Regions from separate parts of the Homo sapiens genome. Here region 2 is linked to region 1. The links are contacts of gene promoters, found by promoter capture Hi-C in blood cells and fetal thymus (Javierre and others, 2016). All regions are on one chromosome and are shown on one strand. The core of a region is centred on a gene start or on the middle of the fragment in contact, and the rest is flanking DNA. Distances in the headings are between cores, read along the strand shown. Region 1 holds the start of PRSS53 (serine protease 53). Region 2 holds the start of ITGAD (integrin subunit alpha D).

Region 1 (3,596 bases), core at 637-3,136:
CATGACCATGACTCACTACAAGCCTTGACCTCCCAGGCTCAAGCGATCCTCCCACCTCAGCCTCGTGAGTAGCTGGGACTACAGGCGTGCACCACCATGCCTGGCTAATTTTACAGTTTTTGTAGAGACATGGTCTTGCTATGTTGCACAGGCTAGTCTTGAACTCTTGGGCTCAAGCGATCCTCCCTCCGTGGCCTCCCAAAGGGCTGGGATTACAAGCGTGAGCTACTGTGCCCGGCCTCAGTCTGTGACTTTAAGCGAGGTCATTCCCTTGCAACCTGAGTTTTCTGATTTGTAAATCTTCTACCATGAAAGGTGGTTGTTACAATTAACTTGACAATATGTACCCAGTACATGGCAGATTCTCAGTAAATGGTTCTTTATTATTACTCTAGAGGCAGGGACTAGCCTTGTGGGGCTTGAGACAAATTGTCCACTCCCCAGAGCCGGAGACCCTGCCTGACCCCAGCCATGACTTACTTTTCAAAGCAGTGGGCAGCAGTGAGGACCCAGGTGTCTGCCACCAGGGAGCCGCTGCAGATGTGGGCTCCTTGCCTCCTCACACTGGCCTGCCAGGGCCACTCGCCAGGGACTGTGTTGCCCTCCTGAGGCTTGGGGGGGCCGGGGCCACGCTGTCCACAGGCTGTGGAAAGGAGTTAGTCACACTGACAGCAGATACCTGTCCTGACCTCACCCCAGTCCCAACCCAGACCCAAGTAAGACCTAGGCCCCGTGTCCCCAGACCTTACCACGCTGAGCGGCTTGAAGACCTGGGAAGAGAGAGACACAGGTAAGATGCAGGGACTCCAGGCCTGCCTAGCTTTGGGGAGGAGAGGGGATGGGCTGGGGGGCGGGCCCAGGGTCCTTGCCTGTGACTCTGATTACCTTACCAGCCCCTCCCAGAATGAAAATATTTATATGAGGCCGAGACAGCTTTTATTGGAACCTATTCAGTGTGCACACTCAGTAATTAATTCTCCTTCAGCTGTGCTCAGCACTCTGGGGCTTGGGGTTCAGCTTGGGAGTAGGCCAGCCCTCCTCCAGGCTTCAGAACCCCCAACTCCTGCCCCCGCCACTGAGTCAGCCAGGCGGCCTGTGTGTGTAGAGAGCATTAGCTTAATTGTCCTCTTAGCAGCAGAGGCCTAAGAGGAAGGATTAGAGGCCTGCATCATTTCCAAGTGGGGAGGGCCCCAAGAAATGGAGACTTACCTCACCCTGGTCTAGAGACTCAGTCTTCCCCACCTTCCCAGAAACTGTCTGAGAGCCCGCCAGAGAGAGGGCCCCTGCCCACCGCCCCTCACAGGCACACAGGCACCCCATGAGACAGCTGAGCCAGGCTGCCCAGAGGATGGATGAAAAGAAAGGGAAACTGAGGCCAGAGGAGCCCAGAGTTTGCCTGACGTCATTGTGGAAGTCGAGGGGGAGGCAGGCACAGGACACACGCAGGCAGCACCTCACACACACACAAGACCACAGGCCCCGCCAACGCAAACTGCAGCTGGCCCGAGAAAATCTCATCCATGTTGACACAGGTGGCCACATATACCACCCCACAGAGTCCTACGGAGTTACATCCCCACTGGTGGACTGTCGCCCACAGGCGGTCCCCCCACCAAGAAGCAGGGACTGCTGGGGCAGAGATGGCCCCTGAGCCCCCACCAGGCCACACCCATACCCCAGCACATGGCGGCTTACCCTCCATGAGGACTGTGGCACCCGCGATGAGCAGCACTGGGCCCCAGCACCACTTCATGCTGCCCCGGGCCACTCTGCCACCTGTGCTCCACTCTGAGAGAGGCCACCTGGGTCTCCCTGGCTCCACCTCTGCTCCACCTCCAGTTGGCTAGGATTCAGCTGTCTGCTTGCCCTAGCCAGCAGTTCCTAGCTCTGGGGCTGTGGCTGTGTGACCCTAGGCTTGTCACCACCCCTCTCTGGGCCTTAGCCGTGGAGCCAAATTGTCTGGGTTTAAATCTGTTTCCTTACTACTTGAGTGGCCTGGGAGAGCTAACCTGCCTGTGCCTTGTCTGAGAAACAGTTGTTGAATGGAAAACGTCTCAATGACAGCCTGGCACAGGGCAAGCTCACTCCCAGCATGAAAGTGCCATCCTGGAACCATGGAGGGCACGTGGGCAGCTCCTCCCAGTCCCCACTTTTCATTTCCACTCCCCCACTTCTCTTCCAGCCAGGGCTAGGTGGGTTTCACATGCCTTCTCCCAGGTCTGCTCAGAGACAGTGTGTGCCAGGCTGAGTGGTGAGGAGCCAGCACCCACTGCTGCTTGCTCGCTGTGAGCCTTTGGCAAATCCCAGTATCTCCCTGGGCCTGCTGGCTTCCTGGGAAACAGGGTGACAGCGGTGCCCACCTTCCTCATAGGCGCAGAGGACTCGGTCAGGCGGGAAGAACACTTTGGCGCGTGCCTCCTCTTCCTCTTCCCACTCCTAACTCAGGCTGGCCCAGACCATTCAAGAACCCTGACCCCAAGACAGAGGCAGCTGTGGGTAAGGTTTAGCATATATTATAGATGCTGGCCGGGCATGGTGGCTCACGCCTGTAATCCCAGCACTTTGGGAGGCCAAAGCAGGCAGATCACCTGAGGTCGGGAGTGCGAGACCAGCCTGACCAACATAGAGAAACACTGTCTCTACTAAAAATACAAAATTAGCCAGGCCTGGTGGCGCATGCCTGTAATCCCAGCTACTCGGGAGGCTGAGGCAGGAGAATCACTTGAACCTGGGAGGTGGAGGTTGTGGTGAGCCGAAATTGTGCCATTGCACTCCAGCCTGGACAACAAGAGCGAAAGTCCGTCTCAAAAACAAACCAACAAAAAAAAAAGCATATAGATGCTGGAGCCAGATGGACCAGGTGGATTCAAATCCTGAGAGCCTCCTGCAGTAGCTGTGTGATCTCAGGCATACTAATTAGCCACTCTGTCCCTATCATCAAGATAGGGATAATAATAGTACCCACCTCATAAATCACTGTAAAGATTAAACGAGTTTAACACGTTAACACAAGTTTTTTTTTGTTTTTTGTTTTTTTTTGGAGACGGTCTTGCTCTGTTGCTCAGGCTGGAGTGCAGTGATCATGGCTCACTGCAGCCTCAACCTTCTGGGCTCAAGCAGTCTTCCCGCCAGCTTCCCGATTAGTTGGGACTATAGGTACATACACCACCATGCCTGGCTAATTTTTTTTTTTTTTTTTTTTTGTAGAGACAGGGGTCTCACTATTTTGCCCAGGCTGGTCTGGAACTCCTGGCCTCAAGTGATCCTCCTGCCTTGGCCTCCCAAAGTACAGGGATTACAGGTGTGAGCCACTGCACCCTGCCAACACAAGTTCTTAAACAGTGCTTGGCATGTAGGTAAGTGGTCAGGGCATAATAGGCAAAACAAAAACCTTCACAACCTGGCCCTGACCCTCCAAGGCTACCAATACTGGCTTGGAATGGTCGATAAGGCAACTGGAGGGGTTAAAGTTAAACTCAAGGAAGAACTTCCCAGCAAGCATTTACAGAACCAGAAGGGCAGCCTGCCCTTCCAGGTGTGTGCTCAGCCTTCCCAGGAGAGGAGGCCTGGCTCCTGTGGGCAGCAGGAGCGAGCTG
Region 2 (3,596 bases), core at 748-3,247, 300 kb after region 1:
GTTTTGTTTGTTTCATTTTGTTTTGTTTTTGAGACAGAGTCTTGCTCTGTTGCCCACGCTGGAATGCAGTGGTGTGATCTTGACTCACTGCAACCTCTGCCTCCTGGGTTTAAGCGATTCTCCTGCCTCAGCTTCCTGAGTAGCTGGGATTACAGGCGTGCACCACCATGCCTGGCTAATCTTTGTATTTTTAGTAGAGATGGGGTTTCACCATGTTGGCCAGGCTGGTCCCGAACTCCTGACCTCAAGCTATACACCTGCCTCAGCCTCCCAAAGTGCTGGAATTACAGACATAAGCCACTGTGCCCAGCCAAATGTTTTAAATAATTGTCACATATATATACAAAATAATTTATGTTATAGGTAGGGATCTTGTTATATTTTAACCTTCAAAGTATATTCCTAAGCTTTTTATTTATTTTTTATTTTTTATTTATTGAGACAGTCTTGCTCTGTCGCCCAGGCTGGAGTGCAGTGGCGCAATCTTGACTCACTGCAAACTCTACCTCCTGGGTTCAAGCGATTCTCCTGCCTCAGCCTCCTGAGTAGCTGGGATTACAGGTGCGCACCACCATGCCCAGCTAATTTTTGTATTTTTAGTAGAGACGGGGTTTCACCATATTGGCCAGAGCTGGTCTCAAACTCCTGACCTCAGGTGATCCATCCACCTCAGCCTCTCAAAGTGCTGGGATTATAGGTGTGAGCCACTGCGCCTGGCCTATTCCTAGCCTTTTATATATAGACCTTTTTCTTTTTCACATTTTAAAGGAACTTTTATGTTTAATCATGGAATATTTCAAACATACAGAAAAATCACAGAAAATAAATAACAACCACTCATTTATCTTCTCCCCAACCCCATGTAATAAATATTAAAATATTGTGTTAAATGCTAAATTTAACACATGCTAAAGGTTCCTGGCTGGATGTGGTGGCTCACGCCTGTAATCCCAGTACTTTGGGAGGAGGAGGTGGGAGGATTGCTTGAGTCCAGGAGCTCGAGACCAGCATGGGCAACATAGTGCGATCTCGTCTCTACAAAAAACAAAAAAATTAGCTGGGCATGGTGGTGTGCATCAGTAATCCCAGTGACTGGGAGGCTGAGGTGGGAGAATTGCTTGAGTCTGGGAATTTGAGGCTGCAGTGAGCCCTGATCATGCCACTGCATTCCAGCATGGGCGACATAGCAAAACTTGTCAAAAAAAAAAAAAGTTTCCTCTCTGCCCCACCATAGACAACCACTCTTCTGATTTCTATCTTCGTAGATGAATTTTGCCCATTCTCTTGTATATGAAAGGAACCAGACATTAGGCATTCTGGTGTCTGGTTTCTTTCACTTAAGATAAAATTGAGTTAACCTGTATTGTTGTACAGAACTGCAGTTTGTTCTTTGTTATTTATTGTAAAGACAGGGTCTGGCTATGTTGCCTAGGCTGGTCTCGAACTGTTGGCCTCAAGCAATCCACCTGCCAAGCTCTGGGACCACAGGCATGAGCCATGGCATCTGATCTGTAGTTTGATCTTATTTCTTGCTGAGTAGTAGCCCATGGCATGACTTTATTATTTTGGGTGTCCATTCTCCTCTGGAGGGGCTCTGCTTTTTGAAACCACACCCTGGCCTAGCTCCCCTTCTCCCTGCCTCTCTGCCGGCTCACATCCACATGCCAAGACCTCTGCAGCCATTCTGCTTCCTGTCCTTCCACTCCTGTGGGACCTCAGAGAGCTACGGGGCTCCCTGGGTACCAACTGGCTCCTGAGGCCTGGGGGAGGGTGGTCTTCTGGGAGAAGGAAGCCAGGTCCCTGCAGGTTGTGGAGGGGGACAGAATGAGGGTTTTTCCCCAGGGTGTTGTTGGCCCCTGCCCCCACTTCTGTTCCATAATTAACCACGCCCCTCCTACCCACTGTGCCCCTCTTCCTGCTGTGTGGAGGCCCTGAATCATTATTTTAACTACCCCCTGGGAGGGTGAGCACCTTCTGTGCTCTGTCCCCAACCTTCCACTTCCCCTCAACGCGCTGCTCAGGGATGACCTTCGGCACTGTGCTTCTTCTGAGTGGTAAGTGGGGCCAGGGTGCTGGGGAGAAGCTTGGAGGAGTTCTGAGGGGACTCCATCTGGGAGGGCAGGCTGGGGGCTGGTGGTCGGCTCCAACCACTCTTATGAGGAGCTGAGGCAGGGGAGTGCTTCATGTGCGAGTGGCCCGGAGTCAGTAGAGTGTGACCTGAATGAAGAGGGGCTCAGGGGCTGTGCTCAGGTGGCGACTAAGCTACCTCTCCAGCTGGCTATGTTGTCCCAGGCTTCCCTGCTCCCACTCATGGAGTCCCTGGTGTGGGTGACAGAGGTCTCCCCAGCCTCCCCCGGGAGTGGAAGGCCACAGAAGCCACCAGGGAGGGGGAAAGGTTGGACATCACCTCCCTGGGCCTGTTTCCCCCAAGTCCTGACTGCACGTAGGGAAGAGGCCCCCTGCTGAAAACTGCATCAGAGTCACATTCACGTGCCATCAAAAATCAGGCTTGGCTGGGTGCGGTGGCTCATGCTTATAATCCCAGCACTTTGGGAGGCCGAGATGGGCGTATCCCCTGAGGTCAGGAGTTTGTGACCAGCCTGGCCAACATGGTGAAACCCCATCTTTACCAAAAATATAAAAATTAGCCGGGCATGGTGGCGTGCACTTGTAATCCCAGCTACTTGGGAAGCTGAGGCAAGAGAATCGCTTGAACCCAGGAGACGGAAGTTGCAGTGAGCTGAGATCGTGCCGTTGCACTCCAGCCTCAGCAACAGAGCGAGACTCCATCTCAAAAAAAAAAAAAAAAAAAAGAAAAAAAAGAAAAAGAGGCTGGGAGGTCCTAGGGATTGGGGCTTCTTTAACTCCCAGCCTCCCCGCCCACCAAATATTCCTCAGTCCTGGCTTCTTATCATGGATTCAACCTGGATGTGGAGGAGCCTACGATCTTCCAGGAGGATGCAGGCGGCTTTGGGCAGAGCGTGGTGCAGTTCGGTGGATCTCGGTAGGCCCCACTCACCCTCCTTCCCCAACCTCCACTACATCAAGTCCTGTGGATGGGTACACGTGGGTTACCCCAGGGAGGTGTCCTGGAGGAAGGCCAGCAGGGGTGAGAAGTCTTCCCTTGGCTCCTTGGAGGCCCTGACATCAGCACCTATTATTCTCAATCCCAGGAAAGGCCACAAAACTCTAGACAAGACCCTACCTTACCTCGGGAGGGAAGCCTTGAACCTGCCTCCCAGGCAGGGCCCACTTCTTGGGGCCAGTATGGTCACACAGGGCCCACACTCATTAACTTTGGAGTTTAATGTTCTGCCCTTGACCTCTTGAAATTCCTGATTATTTTTATTTTTATTTTTACTCCAGCTCTGTTACCCAGGCTGGAGTGCAGTGGTGCAATCACAGCTTACTGCAGCCTCAAACTCTCGGGCACAAGTGATCCTCTCACCTCAGCCTCCTGAATAGCTGGGACCACAGGTGCATGCCATCATGCCTGTTTTTTGTTTTGTTTTGTTTTACTTTTTACAGAGATGGAGTCTTGCTATGTTGTCCAGACTGGCTGAACTCCTGGGCTCAAGCAATCCTCCTGCCTTGGC

What was found. The method cuts DNA at HindIII sites, captures the fragments that hold promoters and counts their contacts. A CHiCAGO score of 5 or more calls a contact.
Region 2: a contact is called between the fragment with the promoter of ITGAD here and the fragment with the promoter of PRSS53 in region 1, in 1 of 17 cell types (neutrophils). The highest score is 6.8, in neutrophils.

Annotation. Positions count from the first base shown.
Region 1 is chr16:31,087,057-31,090,652 of GRCh38, forward strand. PRSS53 (serine protease 53) reads right to left here and starts at 1,887. Exons shown (of 11, transcript NM_001039503.3): 1 at 1,696-1,887; 2 at 750-770; 3 at 481-643. The coding sequence starts at 1,753. RefSeq lists an enhancer at 1,564-2,064. The HindIII fragment of the contact is 23,145 bases long and covers 1-3,596 here.
Region 2 is chr16:31,391,338-31,394,933 of GRCh38, forward strand. ITGAD (integrin subunit alpha D) reads left to right here and starts at 1,998. Exons shown (of 30, transcript NM_005353.3): 1 at 1,998-2,054; 2 at 2,899-3,004. The coding sequence starts at 2,024. The HindIII fragment of the contact is 1,676 bases long and covers 406-2,081 here.